4 separate regions of the Homo sapiens genome follow, and all the other regions are linked to region 1. The links are contacts of gene promoters, found by promoter capture Hi-C in blood cells and fetal thymus (Javierre and others, 2016). All regions are on one chromosome and are shown on one strand. The core of a region is centred on a gene start or on the middle of the fragment in contact, and the rest is flanking DNA. Distances in the headings are between cores, read along the strand shown. Region 1 holds the start of MKX (mohawk homeobox). Region 2 overlaps MPP7 (MAGUK p55 scaffold protein 7). Region 3 overlaps MPP7 (MAGUK p55 scaffold protein 7). Region 4 holds the start of PTCHD3 (patched domain containing 3 (gene/pseudogene)).

Region 1 (4,370 bases), core at 991-3,490:
TGTAATTTAATAATGAATGTATTTGAAGTGTGGATTAAAATGAAGACAACACTTCCCTTTTGCATAGAGGATAAAACTTGCAAAAATAAAATAAATGCCCATTGGTATATTACAGAGGGATATTTCACACCATTTCACTTCTAGAATGGATCCTTCACTCTTCTTTCATTTTTAAATGGATTTTAATTATTAAATCATAGTCTAAGGGAATTACCATATGTTAATTTTTTAGTGAGTTGAGGCTTACTCAAATGTATTTTATTCCTATATCAAATGAAAAGTATTTTTGCATTAAGATTTTTGCTGTATATTTCATTTCAGACTTTAAGAAAACAAATATTACATGTAAGTATATCTTAAAAGCGCTCTAAATGCATTTTTAAATTGAGTAAATATAGTTAAGTACTAAAACAACAAAATTCATTTGTCCTATACTAACATGTACTATAGCATATAGCTCAAAAAGTTAGTAGAATACTGGGAAATTGCAAGTAACTGTATGATGCCTATTGCTTTACCTGGGACAGCTGACCAAAAAATGTTTCAGGGGTATGTTAGAGCTAATTTCATTACAATTCCCGGTGACTAACACCACTGATAGAGACCATAAAAGAGAAGGTGGCTCTTTTGTCCTATGAATTATCAATTAGATCTGCTTCTGTGGTGAAATTTGTTAGCTGAAAATTGATGGCTGAAACCTTAGGATTTACCCCTGTCTTTAAGCTCCTACAGCGAGGTCTGTAGACCAGAAGCCTGTACTGAACTCACACCACAAGGGCAGCGCCAAAGACAAGATGCAAGCGCTGCAACAGCAAGTTATATAACAAAAGAGAACCGAGGACATCAGAACGTGCTCCAATGATACTTTGTATCTTCCTGGTGCGCAAAAATGTAAACCGGCCTTCCTTTATGGTTTACATTGTACCCCTGCACAACGGTTTGCTATCGCGTAATTTGGGAGGTGACACATATGAAATTTGAGGGTGTGATTAGTCTTTAAAATAATAGTTTTGGTATATATTTTAAGCACTTCTAGCGACCCCCCCAACACACAAACACACACACACACACGCGCACACACACACACACACACGAAGAAGATGCTAAGGTGGGCCACTGCCCCGGCTCTGGCCAGCCGCATTTAGAGGGGAAAAGGACAAATGGCGCTATTTCTTTAAGCTTGGTGGGGGGAAATCTAAGTTTGTTCTTTAAAAAGGGCGAAAGTTCGCTAGGACCACAGGGCCTTCGGCGAGAGCGCAGGCAGCTTCGTGTTGGCACCTTGGGGATCTTCTGGGCTGCCAGAAGCTCTGAGCTTGCAGTTGCACCTAAACCGCCGCTTTCGCTACTTATATTTGCGGTAATGTTAGGAAGCAAAGTATCATCAATCAGAGAATCTGGTAGCCATTCTCTCTCTTTGCCCTGTGTCCCAGCTTGTGATTCTTCTAAGTTCCATCTCCTTTGCTGCGTGCAGATCCTTGGCTTTGGGCGCGCTTCCTCTTCTGCACTTGGGCCACCGCGGGTTGGCCACCTGGGCTGAACTCATCCCATCCTTGCTTTCCCCCATCCCTATACCCAGCGGCGAGGGCAGCCTCACCAGCCCTTGCCCCGGAGGTGAATGTGTGCCTGGCTTTGACTGAGACAACTAGGACCCCAGAAGCCCAGTGACATCAGAAAAGAGGCTCCTGGGCACTAGCACTTCCCGCAATACGCTCCAGGGCTGTAGGTGCAAAACGGAGCTCTAACTTCCCTCCAGCTAATCGAGAGGAAAATACAGGGCGCGTCACAGTGGCCTCTCCCGCCTAGCCACGCGCAGTGAAATTTCCGGCAATCGGGCCAGCTAAGACACGGGATTTGCACCGCAGCCTCTCAGCTTCTGGAGCCGGAGCCGAGCGCTCCCGGCAGCTTCTCCAATTTCTCTCCTAAAGTGCGAAGGGAAAAGCCCCGTCTGCTCCACGACTGCAAGGCCGGCGGATCTGGGAGCCGCGCCCGGCTCCGGAGGACTCGGCGGGCCCGGGGCTCCCCGGCAGCGGCTCCTCTGCTAGGGGTTAACAGCAGCCCCCGCGGCCGGGCGGGCGCGGACGCTTCCTCTCCACCCGCCCGGGAACGTGGATACCGCGCCCGCAGGATGTTCGCCGGCTGGGACCGGCAGTCAGGAAACATGAGAAGGCCTCGCTATTCCTGTTCCCGGGCGGCGCGCGCCGGGCTGGGTAAATAAAGCCGAGACGACGGCGGTGGCGGTGGTGAGCGCGCTGGAGCCCGCGTGGAGAACATGCGGCGGGGATGGGAGTGCGCCTAGTCTCGAGGCGGGAGAGCCAGCCGCCCTGCAGCCGGCCGTCGGCCCCGCAGCCACAGGTACAGCCCCCGCGTCGCCGAGTCTCAGCCGGCTGCGGCGGAACGCCAGGCTCGCTCTGGCCCCTGCGCCCTGGGCGCCGGTGCTCTCCCGCCCTTCCCCCAACTTCCCTCCAAGGTCTGGTGGAGAGGCGCTCGGGTAGCGGCCAAGGCTGGCCCAAGGGTCTGCGCGGAGCTTGGGAGCCCACCTGGCCGCGCCTCCTTTGCTTTAAAATTATTCGCCGGCGTTGGGGGAGGGGGACACTTCTGCAGGGAGTGACCTCCCCGGCCACAGTCTGGAGTGAATCGGGGTAAGTGATTTGAGAAGAGGCGCGGGTGGCCGCGCGCGGGAGTCCTGGGAGGGTCAGCAAGTGTGGTTCACACGCCCCCGGACCCCTTGCGACAGGACAGCGCTCGGACCTTTGCCATCGCTTGCCTCTGAGCCTGCTGCCTGCAGACCTACAGCGCGCCGGGTGTCTGTGTCTGCGATCTCTGCGTGGGCTTGGGGCTGCCGGGGAAGTGTCCGAGGTGGCTAACCTCGTGATGACTTCGCTAGGAAAAACACGTCGTCGCATCTAGGAGGACGCGCTGGGGTGGCTCGGAGAAGGCCGGGCCGGGGAAGGGTGTCTTGTACAAATAAAGCAGCATGAACACACATCCCTAAGGGCATGATTTTAAAAGAAAACACCAACGCGAGTCTTGACTGTAGAACAGGGGCTGCAAGCACGAAAATTCTCTTTGACACTTATCACCGAGGCTATGTGCACACCCCAGGCACGTACCTGTCTGCGCGGGAGGACGCAGTCCTAGGGGACACACGACATCCAGCAGAGGTCTGACTTCACTTCCCTACGAACACAGACCGTAGCCGTCGTTTGATCGCGGTGGTCACGCGTGGTCCTAAATGTCACGCGTGGCCTCTGCTGCGGTGGCCGAAGGGCGGGGCGGGGGCGTTGGCGAGTGTGGGCGCTTGGCGAGGCAAAGGGTGTGTGTGTGTGTGTGTGTGTGTGTGTGTGTGTATGCGCGCGCGCGTGTGTTAGTGGAGTAGCAGCCCATGCCGCGGCTGGACGGGCAAAGGGGGCGCTGGCAGCGAAGCTGAGGCCGCTCGGAGGAAACGGGAGCTGTCCCGAGGCGCGAGGCGAGGAGATGGGGCGGGCGAAGTCCGCCGCGCGCCTTGGGGCTGTAACTCTGCGGCTCCGCGGCCGCGCGGACTTGCTCCTGACGCCGGTGCGCGGCAGGCAGAGGCTCAGGGCCTCCGCGACCCCAGAGGTGAGCTGCTGGCTCTCCCCGACAGTGGCAGCAGTGGCCCGGGAGGTGCGCCGACCAAGCTGCCTCCTGCCTTGGGCTTCTGACACCTTTACAGCCTCTGAAAGGGTCCCCGGAGACCCCAGAGAGAGGCGGGTGTCGAGGGGCTACGAGCTCGCGGCTGACACCCGCGCTGCGGAAGAGAATGGCACTGATTGAGGGCTCTGGGGACCTGGGTCCTGGCGCCTTGGACCTTAGGACCATGCACTTCCCGGGGCGCGTTGGGGGATGATAGGAAGATTCTGGGAGAGAAGGGGGAGAAGTGGTGCTTTCGTCCTGACGCCACTTAACTTTTTCCTGTCCTTGAACCCAACCTCACCCCGGGGGACCTTGGCGGACAGAAGATGCGGGGGTTTCAACCAAACCATCCACGATCTAGAAAACACGAAAATCCCCCAAATCCCGGTATGGCCTGGGACTCATGAGCTGGGGGGTCTTGTGGATACGGTTGGCACATTACCCCAAATCTTCCCTTCCATCCAACCCCTCCTGACGCCCCGAGTTGGGGTTCCTAGAGGCTTTAGTCTTCTGCTGTGATTGAAGAACCACGCGCGGCCTCACGCCGGTCGCGCTCCGCAGTCCGGAGTATGCCTCTCCCAGATTCAAACTGAAACCCAGAGGCTCGTTTGGGAATTCGTTTCCTTTGCCTCTGCGGGTGAATGATTCCCGGTTGTAGTTCTGGGGAGTGAAGGGATTGGGGGGATCGATCGCCCAGGCAAGGAAGAGGGCAGGTACCT
Region 2 (4,370 bases), core at 829-3,328, 450 kb before region 1:
ACCTGCCTCGGACTCTCAAAGTGTTAGGACTACAGGTGTGAGCCACTGCGCCTGGCCTATATTTCTTTTAAATAAGGCTGTAGTTCTGTTTTCTCCAGAAATCTTTGTTTTTAACTCACAACTATGTTAGATTTCTAGGATAAGAATATGGAATTGTTAGTACCTTTTAAATGGTTGTGTTATGTTTACCCCTACCCTTTAAAGTAATTGTGTGTATATTTGGGAACAGGAGGAAAAAATGTAGCAATCTGAATTTTATTCTTTTTGGTATTTTGAAGTATTTCAACAAACCCAAATTGATATTTTCCAGATAATTTTCCTCATATGATTGAATTATTGTGTGTGTTTCTGTGATTTCAGCCTTATACAAGTAATGATAAATACTCAGACCCCTGTAACATCTGGTTACATTGTTTTAGCTTTGCATATTTTTTAATTTTGGGGGTTACATAGTAGGTATATATTTTTATGGAGTATACAATATATTTTGATACCAGCATGCAATATAATAATCACATCAGGGTAAATGGGGTATCCATCACCTCAAGCATCTATTTAACTTTGAGTTTTGATGGACTGATTGATACTATTTGTTGGGTACATACTCTATGCCAGTTACTATATGGACCACTAGGGCCAAGATGTTCAACTTGGTGGGCACAATCCCTTGCCTGTGGGGGCTCCAGTCTCCCAGAGAGTTTATAAATGAAGGGATGGATGATTACAGTATTCTAAGATAGGCCTCATTTGGAGCTTTTTAGGAGAGACACAAGGTACCTCACTCAACACTAGCCTCAGAGGGGGCGGTTCATGGAGGATTTGGTATCTTAAGTTGGAACCTGCATTCGGTATAGGAGTTGCTCAGGTTAGGCTGGGTGTGGTGGCTCATGCCTGTAATCCCAGCACTTTGGGAGGCTGAGGCAGGTGGATCACTTGAGGTCAACAGTTCGAGACCAGCCTGGTCAAAATGGTGAAACCCTGTCTCTACTAAAAATACAAAAATTAGCCAGGCATGGTGGCACATTCTTGTAATCCCAGCTGCTTGGGAGGCTGAGGCATGAGAATTGCTTGAACCTGGGAGGCAGAGGTTGCAGTGAGCTGAGATCGTGCCACTGTACTCCAGCCTGGGCGACAGAGCAAGATTCCATCTCAAAAAAAAAAAAAAAAAAAGGAAGTTGCTCAGGTTAGAGTTTATGGGATGGATGAGGGCATGGGAGGTCAGGCAGAAGGAATAATGGATGCGAACACCTGGAGGCAAGAGCGAACAATCCACCTTTAGGATTGAGGTCAACAGATTGTTTTGGCTGATCTGTGACACCAGGAAGGCTGTGGGCAGCCAAGGGTGGCAGGAGAGATGAACAGTGACCTGTTCTTGAATAGCTTTGTAAACGACAGAAGGTAAATGGGCTTTCTTCTAAGAGAGTGGGAACCATTGCATGGAAAGGTTTCAAGAACAGTGAAGATATCAGGTTTTTCTTTTAGAGGTAAACAGTGAAGACTGGATGGGACATGAGATTCCCAGGTCAGAGATGATGGTGGCAAAGTGTTGGAAGAGCCACTGATTTTAGTTTGAGAGAGGGAGGCTGATGTTCAGTGTGCTCTCATCTGCCTGTGGGCTCTTCATTGAAATATGAAACTCTCCTGTTGTAAGCCACCAACTATTGTTTATGCCAGGCCATTGCGGGTTGGAAGAGGATACCAGGAGACCTGTATAAGCCCTAAGATACCAATACCAGGTACCAGTTCTTATATATTTTGACCATCTCCTCAGAGGAGATGAGAGGTAATTTTAGTTTTGGTTATGTTTGATATCTGGGGCATAATCAAATAGAGCTACTTATTGGATGTGTGAATCTTTTTTTTTTTTTTTTCGAGATGGAGTCTCGCTGTGTCACCCAGGCTGGAGTGCAGTAGTGTGATCTCGGCTCACTGCAACCTCTGCCTCCTGGGTTCAAGGGAGTCTCCTGCCTCAGCCTCCCGTGTAGCTGCAATTACAGGCACCTGCCCCCACGCCCAGCTAATTTTTATACTTTTAGTGGAGATGGGTTCCACCATGTTGGCCAGGGTGGTCTTGAACTCCTGACCTTGGGTGATCCACCTGCCTTGGCCTCCCAAAGTGCTGGGATTACAGGCATGAGCCACCGCATCTGGCCTGGATATGTGAATATTGAACTGAGGATAATTATGTTCTGGATTGGACAGAATAGATTTGGGAGTAGGGGTGCCAGATAAAATGCAGGACATCCTCTTACAGTTGAATTTCAGATATGCAATGAATGGTCTTTGTTATAAGTGTGAACCATGCAATATTTGTATTTTCATTACTGAAATCTGACAGCTCTTATTTGGGAGTCATCAACGTTTAGAAGGTAACATTCTTTTGGGAACAGATTTGTTGAGCTATATAATTCACCTACTGTCAAATCACCCACTTAAAACATACAATTCAGTGGTTTTTAGTATATTCACAGGATTGTGCAACCATTGCCAAAATCAATTTTATTTATTTTGTTTATTTTGTTCTTTTCCTATCCCCACAATCAGTTTTAGAACCTTTTTATCACCTCAAAAATAAATCCTTCACCCCTAGCCATCATTCTTCAATCCTTGCATTCTCTCTCCCATCCCATCCCTAAACAACTGCCAGTCTACTTTCTGTCTCTATGTATTTGCCTATCCTGGAAATTTCATATAAATGGCATCATCTGTGGCTTTTTTGTAACTGACTTCTGTCACTTAGCTTAATGTTTTCAAGGCTCACCCAAATTATAGCATGTATCAGTACTTAATTCCTTTTTATGACTGAATAACATTGTATGGCTATATCACACTTCGTTCATCCTTTCATCCATGGATGGACATTTGGGTTGTTTCTGCCTATTGGCTGTTATGGTGATGCTACTAAGAACATTTGTGTATAAGTTATTGCATAGATGTATATTTTCACTTCTCCTGGGTATGTATCTAGGAGAGGAATTGCTAGGTTAAATGGTAGCTCTAAGTTTTTATGAAGACCTGTTAGACTATTTTTCTAAGTGGCTGAACCATTTTATATTCCCACCAGCAGTGTATAAGGGTTCTGATTTGTCTGTATCTTCACCAACATTTGTTTTTATCTGACTTTTTGATTCTTACTGTCCTGGTGGGTATGAAGTGGTACCTCATTGTGATTTTGATTTGCATTTTCTAGATGTCTAAATAATGTTAACCATCTTTTCATGTGCTTATTGGCTATTTGTATGTCTTCTTTGGAGAAATGTCCAATTGGATCCTTTGCCCATCATTTCTCCCATTGGATTCTTTTTAATTAATAAACTTTACTTTGTAGAACTGTTTTGGATTTACAGAAAAATTGAGCAGATGGTACAGATAGCTCCCATATCCCCCTTCTCCCCTTCCCAGTTTCTCTTATTATTTACCTCTTGCATTGGCATGGTACATTTGTCAATTAACGAACCAATGTTGGTTGATACATTATTATTAATTGAACTCCATTATCTACATTAAGGTTTATTCTTTGTGTTGTATACTTCCAGGTTTTGACAAATGCATTATGTCTTGCATCTATTATTACATTGTCATGAAGAATAGTTTTACGTTTCCAAATCTCCCATGCTTTACCTGTCCTCCCTCCCCAGCTCAGCAATCACTGATAGTTTTACTGTCTGAATAGTTTTGCCTTTTCCAGAAGGTCATATTGTTGGAATAATACAGTATGTAGCCTTTTCAGATTGGCTTCTTTTACCTAGTAATATGCATTTAGGGCTCCATCAAGTCTTCTCATGGCAACATAGCCCATTTCTTTACTTTGTATTGCTGAATAGGATTTAGTTGTAGATAAGCACCATAGTTTGTTTCTCCATTAACCTTTTGAAGGGCATGTTCATTGCTTCCAGTTTTGAGCAGTTACAGGTAAACTTTCTATAAACATTTGTGTGCAGGTTTTTGTGTAGATGTAAGTTTGCAACTCATTTGGATAAATATCACGGAGCACAGTTACTGGATCATGTGGTAAGACTAGCTTTTTAAGAAACTGCTGGCCAGGTGTGGTGGCTCATGCCTGTAATCCCAGCACTTTGGGAGGCCGAGGCGGGTGGATCACCAGGTCTGGAGTTCGAGACCATTCTGGCCAACATGGTGAAACCCTATCTCTACTAGAAATACAAAAAACTAGCCAGGTGTGGTGGCACGCGCCTGTAGTCCCAGCTACTTGAGAAGCTGAGGCAGAAGAATCGCTTGAATCCAGGAGGCGGAGGTTGCAGTGAGTTGAGATTGTGTCACTGCACTCCAGCCTGGGTGACAGAGTGAGACTCTGTTTCAAAAACATTTCAAAAACAAACAAACAAAAAGAAGCTGCCATATTGTCTTTT
Region 3 (4,370 bases), core at 1,048-3,547, 410 kb before region 1:
GTTACATCAAAGCTAACTTTTCTATCTCTTTTAACAAAATTTCTGGCAGTCTGTAGCTTCCAGGACATTTTCAATTATTAAAAGCTCAATTTAGTATTCCTTTGTGGTCATCTCTGATCTGAGTCTCACCTCCTCCTGTCCCTAGTGTCAGCCAGGGGTAGGGGAGTTGGCTTGGGGATGGGGGATAGTGTGTTCTCCTTTTACCCCTACTCCCCCAATACCCTTTGCAAGATGGATCGGTTTGCTTTTGAAAGGAGATCCAGTTCTTCTGTTGTGTTGGGACAGGGAGACAGAAGTTGGCCACATTATTGCCTCTTCTCAGGCCAGCACTGACCAGCATTCTTACTCTTTGTGGAAGTGCTCAAATGTTGCATTTCTCTTACAGTGCATGGCTTGTGTAACCCAAAACCTCCTGTAGTGCTGTAGGCTGGATTATCTGCAGGGTGGCTCCAGCCCAACTACTTTCAGTGGGGTCCATGTGACCTGTAGGTAACTCATGCATCATTTGTAGGCCAAGCAACTGTCGGCCTCTACTGTTCCCTCTCTCTGTTCTGCCATCCTGCCTCATTTCCCTTGTCACCTTGATTAGAGAAACACGAAAGGAAAATCAGCTAGTCTGCTGCCTGCATAGGAGCTAGAGTTTGTCCTCTGTCGTCTTCTCTGTACCCCTGTTCTCTATGAGGGATTGTCTCAGAGACTTACCTCCATTATTCTACTCTTCACTAGGCTGTGGGCCCCCCTGCCGGCTGTCCCCTCTTTTCCTATTTCCGTAAGACAATTTCCACTCTGTAGTCCTATGTATGTATGTATATATGAAATTTATATTTCATATATAAATTTCACACACACACATTCTGGGAAGTGGCAGATAGAAGATAGTTGATGGTTACATTTCACCCATCTCTTTGAGTCTAGAGAAGTGTATGTTTCAGCTGTTTGGAGTTTTTCTTAGAACATGAGACTTAACACTTCTTTTTCCTCAGCTTTGGGGACTAGTCATCAGTTTTGGGGCAAGAAGAAAATCATTGCATTTATCATCCTCTTCCACGGTGATCCCAGGGTGTTACCAACTGTGCAGGATTAGAGGATTTATATGTCCACTTATCACTAACTAATAATAACGTTTTAACATCTATTTTATGTGAGGCATTGGGTTATGAGCAAGGGATCTGGTGGTGAACTCTAGGGACATTGTCCCTGATCTATGAATTTCCTTACCGATGGGGGTGTAAACAGATAAATATGATAAATCTATAAATACAAAGTCTGATAAGGATAGTGAACAAAAAGAATAGGAAGCCATCAGACCTAATAATGAAGGAGAACTGGTTTTGATTGGGTAAGACTGTTGGGAAAAGCTGTGTGTAAGTGACATTTTAGCTAAGACTCAGAGATGAATGTGGGTACCCCCAAGACTCAGGAACATTGCAGGCAGAGAGGATGCCTTGAGGTAGGAGAGACTCTGGGTGCTTGAGGGTCTAACATAAGGTCCCTGTGGGTGGAACCTGATGGAGAATGGCTTGAGATGGAAGTCTGCAGGGTCCAGGGCATGCAGAGCCCCAGAACAGGCTTGAGTTTCAAGTGCATTGGCAGGCATGCCCTTCATCTCAAGAGCAATGGCAAGCCACCAAAGGGCTTAAATAAGGAAGTGACAACCAGTTTATGGTTGCTGGGTATTTCCATTGTGAATAAAGTCTGATTCCTGTCTAATAGTCATTTTCCATACAGTCACATTGGAATACACTCCACATTCCCTAACCAGATCCTAGCTCATCTCAAAATTATGTGAGCTTCCTTATTAATTTCAACAGAATTTGGGCTTGTGGGCAGAGGGTCTTTGGATTCCCAAATGATAGACAGATGAGAGCTGACAACAGTGATAGCTAGCCCTGTATCGTCTTTGAAGTGACTCTGACGGTTACTCTTTTTCTTTTCCTTTTCCTTTTCTTTCCTTTCCTTTCTGAGACCAAGTCTCGCCCTGCTGCCCAGGCTGAAGTGCAATGGCATGATCTCGGCTCACTGCAACCTCTGCCTCTCGGGTTCAAGCGATTCTCCTGTCTCAGCCTCCCGAGTAGCTGGGATTACAGGCACGCTGCACCACACCTGGCTAATTTTAGTATTTTTGGTAGAGACAGGGTTTCACCATGTTGACCAGGCTGGTCTCGAACTCCTGACCTCAGGTGATCCTCTTGCCTCGGCCTCCCAAAGTGCTGGGATTACAGGTGTGAGCCACCACACCTGGCCGATTACTCTTTTTCTAAGAATCTTTCCACCTCACTGTTACACTTTTTCTTGTGTGAGGGTTTCATTCTGTCTTCTCACCAAAGATAGAACTTTCTTCTTTGGGAACAGGGCAGCTAGAGCTGTGGGTGCGTCCAGACAGATTCTTTTTGAACCTGTTAATAAACATGTAGATCTAGGTTTTTCATCACACCCCTCATTCCTCCAGGAAACCTCCTTATGATACTCTCAGCTTGGTCTTGCACCCTTTCCATCATTTGCCACTTGCAGTGATCACAGTTAGTGTCTGCCTTTCCTGTGTCCGTATCTGGTGGTCACAGTTACTGTCTGCCTTTCCTGTGTCCATCCAGGCTTCCATTAGCCCTTTGTTCAGGTCCTCTTCTCTTTTTACTTGGACTGTTTTTGAAGAAATGTCAATAGAGATGGCATTTGGTTGCGTGACCTCAGAAATTCTCTTCTTGAATATAGGTGATACCGATTAATCTTTGATGTTGATCTTTAGGTCTTGATTGTATCATATGTATACACGACATGGTGTAGTCAAAGGGAGACGAGAATCTCCTCTTACTAGGAACACCAGTGGAAGCGAGCAGGGGAATTGGAAATAAATACTGTTTATTAGGTGTTTTCTATTTTCCAGAACTTGCGTGAAACTCTTTTAATGGTGACTTTCATTCTCACAGTAACCCTAGTTAATAGATACGATTATTATCCTGTTTTAAATATGAGAAAACTAAGGCATAGAAAGTTAAATAAGTTGCTTAAGCATAAGTAAGGGGCGGAATTGGGATTTAAACTCATGTATTTGACTTCAAGACTCTCAGTAAATTATGTTGATACTTCATCTTTTAAAACTGTGAAAATACTATAAATTCTTCATTTTTTTTAGTGCTTTTCCTTTTCTCTATGGAGATAACAGTTAAATCTCTAACGTACAATGGGCCTATATGTTTATCTTGGAGGCAGCAAGGAAAACAATAGCTGGAAGAGTACATCTGATTTCACAACAGATTTGGGGATAGAGGCAGTGTGGTGGCTGCTGAGAGGAGATGGAACTGCTTAAGTCCATTGTGTTTGCAAAGAAAGGGAAACCTGAGGAACCCCAAAGTCATCTGCACTGAGCAGTGACCAGTTTGTTTGTTTTGTTTTGTTTTTTTTTTTTAAGTTTCTGACCACTAGCACAATATCCTCCTAACAGGTTTTCTGTTCCTCGTCTTACCTGCTACCTCCCTTCCTCCCCAAATCTGTCCAAGGAAAATGGAGTGAAGCACAAATTGGCCCAAGGGTCTCCTATTCTTTAATGCCTTTTTCTTTTTCTTTCTTTTTTTTTTTGGAGACAGGGTCTGGCTCTGTTGCCCAGGCTGGAGTGTGGTGGCACAATCTGAGCTCACTGCAACCTCCACTTCCTGGGCTCAATCAATCAATCAGTCTGCCCACTTCAGCCTCCCGAGTAGCTGGGACTACAGGTGTACACTACCATGCCTGGCCAATTTCTGTATTTTTTGTAGAGTTGGGGTTTCACCATGTTACCCAGGCTGGTGTTGAACTCCTGGGCTCAAGCAATCTGCCTGCCTTGGCCTCCCAAAGTGCTGGGCTTACCGGTGTGAGCCACCGCACTTGGCCTTTAATGGCTATTTATTTATTTACTGAATAAAGTCTTAAGTCCTTTAGCATAAATCACCCATCTGTATTTGGGTATTTTCCTAGAAAATGCATGCAAACAAATTGTATATAGTTTTCAGGAGTTCATGAATCAACTGAGTCACACATGAACTCTCCTAGCCATAGATCCCAGACTCGCCACGTTTTAAGACGGTTCATTCCATCTTTTGTTACAAAACTAGTTTTAAGCTGTAATTACAGTTTTAATGTTTGTTAAAATGTAAACTGCAAACAAGTATACAAGGTAATTGATTGCTACTTGTATGTTGAAACCTGTCTGAGTTCCATGACATCATCTGCAGTAACAGCTATCTGATCAAAAATTTAACAGTTCCCACTTCATCAACAATTACTGGAAAAAAAAAACAATTACTGAAATACAGATTTTTGAAGAATGGCAGCTCTCATAATTGTAATATGTGGGGAGTGAAAAATAAATGTATGTAGAAATTTGGGGTTGTTTCAAA
Region 4 (4,370 bases), core at 997-3,496, 330 kb after region 1:
ATGAGTGTTAGGGACAGCTATATCTTCATGGATTATCTAGTAGTAAAGCCAAACTAATCATTTTAATAAATAAGCCATGACATTTTAGTGGCTTATCACAATACAAATATATCTCTCACTCATGTAACAGTCACTACAGATGTTCCTGGTCAGTGACTAGGTATCCTGCCCATGATGCTTCAGGAACCCAGGTTCCTGCCAGCTTATGTACCACAGTTCAAGTAGGTTCCTCTGTCACCTATGTCTAGATGATGGGATGGGATAGAGCAATTCTTAAAGGTCTTGGTCTGGAAGAAACACCCATCACTTCCACTTATATTCTGTAGCTGATTACTGGTCACAAGGCCACACAAAGGAACAAAGGAGATTTGAAAATGTAATCCTTGATTGGACAGCCATATTTCAATTACAATTCCATATTATGATGGAAAGGGTAGCATAGTTTTCAGTTGGCAACTATCACTTAATGTCATTGATTCTTAACTGCCTACATTAAACTAAAATAAATTCCAGATGGATTAATATTTAAATTTTTAAAAAGCAGATAATTATTGTATTAGTCCATTAGTGCTGTTATAACAAAATATCTAAGATCCTGTTTACAAACAACAGGAATTTATTTCTTACAATTCTGGATGGGGGAAGTCCAAAATCAAGATGTTGGCAGGTTTGGTGTCTGGAGGGCCCAGCCTTTGCTTCCAAGTTGGTGCCTTGTTGCTGCACCCTCTGGAGGGAAGGAAGGCTATGTCCTCACCTGGCGAAAGAGTGGAAGGGCAAAAGGGCCTAGCTAGTTATCTCCAGCCCTTTTATAAGGTCACTAATCCCACTCATAAGAGGTCTACCATCATGACTTAATCACCCCTAAAGACTATCACATTGGGGTTTGAGTTCCAACCTTTGAATTTTGGAGGGACACATTCATTCAAATCGCAGCAATTATAATCACAAAAAAAGAAAAATTTGTTATGACAAAAAATGGAATTCATGAAAGAAAAGTATTCATTAATTGAATTGCAAAAATAAGCCATGGCAATGAGAAAAATGAGGGGAGAGGGGAGGCTTGTAACTCAGACCACAAGAAAAGTGGTCATTTCTTTAACATATAAATCAAGAAGAAAATCCCAAAATCCAATAGGAAAACTATTGAATGGAATAGGCACGCAAAAGATATGATAGTTCACTCAAAAAGGAAAGATAAGGATACTAAGCAGTACATTCAAAATTAAACCAAAGTAAGATGCCAGTGGCACAAACCACTTTGCTGACATTGTAGGATAGGCTGTGGCAAATTCATATATTGCTTATGAGGGTATAAATCAATACAACTTCTTTGGATTTTAATTTCTCAATAGCTCTAAAAATTTAAAAGAACCTATCCTTTGGCCTAGTGAATCCACTCTAAAGAATTATCTCTCACAGATATGGTTGCTGTGTACAGGTTAAAATATGATATTTATTTACTGAGCACTGTTTATAAAAGCAAATGACTAAACAATGTATGGGTCCATCAGTAAAATTCTGGCTAAATTATGTTTCATCCATACATTGGAAAAGTATAGAGCAGTTCAAAAAAATAAGATAAATCCATATGCACTGACATGTTCAAATCTTCTGCCACTGTAGATGAAAAATGTGATCTACATAACATGAATAGTGAAGTAGTATTTATGAAAAAGGTATATTTGCTATATCTTTGATATGCATGTATATGCATAGAAAGGGTTTGCAAGGATGTAGACCCACTTTTTAACACTTCTTTTAAGAGGAATGGGAGTGAAAGATTTTGATTTTTTTTTCCCCACTTTTCATTCTATGCATTTACTTCTTTTTACTAGGAGAATGTATGTACATGTTACACTTGTGGACAGAAAATAAAAATAATAACTAAGTCAAGTGTGTCAGATTCATAAAAGTCTTACTTGAAACTGTTACTGGGTGAATGCCAAGAAAGGTAAAATCTGTCACTCAGGACACGTGGAATTTCTGTGCCATTTGTGTGCATGGAAGAAACACCCACATTCTCCCAATAAATTGCGAGTCCATAGGATAGGCACGCATTTGATGGCCTTGAAGAAGCGTTCCTTGTATGTGCAGAACCCCTGAGAAACCAGGCACGCCACAAACACATTTCAGATTAGTTGGGCGACGGGGCAAACCACGTGCTCCCAACGCAGCCTCCGCTTCCGGAGCGCGGCTGGAGGGCAAACTCCCCTAGAATTTCTCCAGGAAACCGTTGGGTGGGGCCAGGAGAGCGTTGGGTGGGGCCAGGAAACCGTCTGGTGGGATCTCCGCAGCTGCTTTTCACCTGCTGTTCCTCCTGCGCTTCCTAAGAGGAAGAATCAATGCCGTGGGTGGAGCCCAAGCCCAGGCCGGGGCCGGAGCAGAAGCCCAAGCTCACCAAACCGGACTCTGCCACCGGGCCGCAGTGGTACCAGGAATCTCAGGAATCGGAGTCGGAAGGCAAGCAGCCACCCCCGGGACCCCTGGCACCCCCGAAATCCCCCGAACCCTCAGGACCCCTGGCGTCGGAGCAGGATGCACCCCTGCCAGAGGGGGACGATGCACCCCCCCGGCCGTCGATGCTGGACGATGCACCCCGCCTGCCGCTGGAGCTGGACGATGCACCCCTGCCGGAGGAGGAAACCCCCGAACCCACGGCCATCTGCAGGCACCGGCACCGCTGTCACACCGACTGCCTAGAGGGGCTGCTGTCCCGCACCTTCCAGTGGCTGGGGTGGCAGGTGGGCGCGCACCCCTGGATCTTCCTGCTGGCGCCCTTGATGCTGACAGCCGCGCTGGGCACCGGCTTCCTGTACCTACCCAAGGACGAAGAGGAAGACCTAGAGGAGCATTACACCCCTGTGGGGAGCCCGGCCAAGGCGGAGCGGCGCTTCGTGCAGGGCCATTTCACCACCAACGACTCCTACCGCTTCTCCGCCTCCAGGAGGAGCACCGAAGCCAATTTCGTCTCGCTTCTGGTGGTCTCCTACAGCGACTCACTGCTGGACCCAGCTACCTTTGCAGAAGTCAGCAAACTGGACGGCGCGGTGCAGGATCTGCGCGTGGCGCGGGAAAAGGGAAGCCAGATCCAGTACCAGCAGGTGTGCGCGAGGTACAGGGCGCTCTGCGTGCCCCCCAACCCGATCCTGTACGCCTGGCAGGTGAACAAAACGCTCAACCTGAGCAGCATCTCCTTCCCCGCCTACAACCACGGCAGGCATCCCCTCTACCTGACCGGCTTCTTCGGAGGATACATCTTGGGGGGCAGCCTAGGAATGGGCCAGTTACTCCTGCGGGCCAAAGCCATGCGGCTGCTGTACTACCTGAAGACCGAGGACCCTGAGTACGACGTGCAGAGCAAGCAGTGGCTCACCCATTTGCTCGATCAATTTACCAACATTAAGAACATCTTGGCCTTGAAAAAAATTGAGGTACCTGGTGGTGTGGGTTTACAGGGAGGCCAGGAGAAGGTGAGAGGGATGAGGAAGACTTGCTCCCCAGAATCGTAACAAAAGCACTTCCTGACTACTTTACGGGGCCCTTGCCTCTAGGCTGGGTGTGCTCTACTGTATTTGGTACTCAACCCAATTTTCTTAACACCGACGGATGCCAGAAATTGTGAATCCTTGGTAGCATTCTAGTCGATAACACAAATCCTATGTCCACCAGATGGGCCTGTTCAGTACAGACATTGATCTTCATGTTTAATTTTGGGGTTTGGTTTCTAATCAAATTACAGTATTCTGAAATTCTACTTTTAGTTAAAGTCTTCACTGGTTTGGGGGAACCCCTAAAACTTGCTTGGAGCTCATTGGGATTAAAAAACAAACCGTCTTTTAAGTAAAAGTTCCATAGCCTTAAGAAGATAACTAGCTTAGCATTTTTCAAGTTAGATACATACGAAGCAGCACCTGGCTTAGTGTGAGGTACATATTAGCTGTTCAGTTATTGGTGGATCTGCAACACTATTCAGATGTATAAATAAGCCTAGTGAAAGAGACACCTGCTGGAAAGAGCTTTCAAAGACCAGGCCCTCCTGAAATATTTATGCAACTGAAATAGTAAAAGACACTAACCTAATACAAATTTAGAAAAAGTTACAATTTCTGCAGCTATTAATGAGAACAAGATTAAACAGTTTTAGGCTGGGTGTGGTGGCTCACGCCTATAATCCCAGCATTTTGGGACACCAAGGCAGGTAGACTGCTTGAGTCCAGGGGTTCAAGACCAGCCTCGGCAACCTGGCAAAACCCCATCTCTACAAAAATTACAAAAGTTAGCCAGTCGTGGTGGTGCACACCTGTAGTCCCAGCTATTCGTAAGGCCAAGGCAGGAGGATGACTTGAGCCCAGGAGGTTGAGGGCCCTGTC

What was found. Contacts are between HindIII fragments. The CHiCAGO score rates a contact against its expected background, and 5 or more counts as called.
Region 2: a contact is called between a fragment that was not itself captured here and the fragment with the promoter of MKX in region 1, in 5 of 17 cell types (M0 macrophages, endothelial precursors, total CD4 T cells and 2 more). The highest score is 6.9, in M0 macrophages.
Region 3: a fragment that was not itself captured here is called in contact with the fragment with the promoter of MKX in region 1 in 1 of 17 cell types (M0 macrophages); the score reaches 6.8 in M0 macrophages.
Region 4: a contact is called between the fragment with the promoter of PTCHD3 here and the fragment with the promoter of MKX in region 1, in 3 of 17 cell types (M0 macrophages, erythroblasts and M1 macrophages). The highest score is 7.9, in M0 macrophages.

What each region holds. Positions count from the first base shown.
Region 1 is chr10:27,743,689-27,748,058 of GRCh38, reverse strand. MKX (mohawk homeobox) reads left to right here and starts at 2,240. Exons shown (of 7, transcript NM_173576.3): 1 at 2,240-2,352. It overlaps MKX-AS1 (MKX antisense RNA 1), which reads right to left and starts at 3,444. Exons shown (of 2, transcript NR_121652.1): 1 at 3,111-3,444. RefSeq lists an enhancer at 2,159-2,749. The HindIII fragment of the contact is 8,324 bases long and covers 1,182-4,370 here.
Region 2 is chr10:28,193,982-28,198,351 of GRCh38, reverse strand. The region is part of intron 3 of MPP7 (MAGUK p55 scaffold protein 7); the gene reads left to right. Among named protein-coding and RNA genes, the nearest start is that of MIR8086, 93 kb to the left of the region's middle. The HindIII fragment of the contact is 7,687 bases long and covers 1-4,370 here.
Region 3 is chr10:28,154,802-28,159,171 of GRCh38, reverse strand. The region is part of intron 3 of MPP7 (MAGUK p55 scaffold protein 7); the gene reads left to right. Among named protein-coding and RNA genes, the nearest start is that of SNORD130, 84 kb to the right of the region's middle. The HindIII fragment of the contact is 6,328 bases long and covers 1-4,370 here.
Region 4 is chr10:27,412,223-27,416,592 of GRCh38, reverse strand. It overlaps PTCHD3 (patched domain containing 3 (gene/pseudogene)), which reads left to right and starts at 2,246. Exons shown (of 4, transcript NM_001034842.5): 1 at 2,246-3,431. The coding sequence starts at 2,343. RefSeq lists a silencer at 2,899-3,193. The HindIII fragment of the contact is 6,271 bases long and covers 1-4,370 here.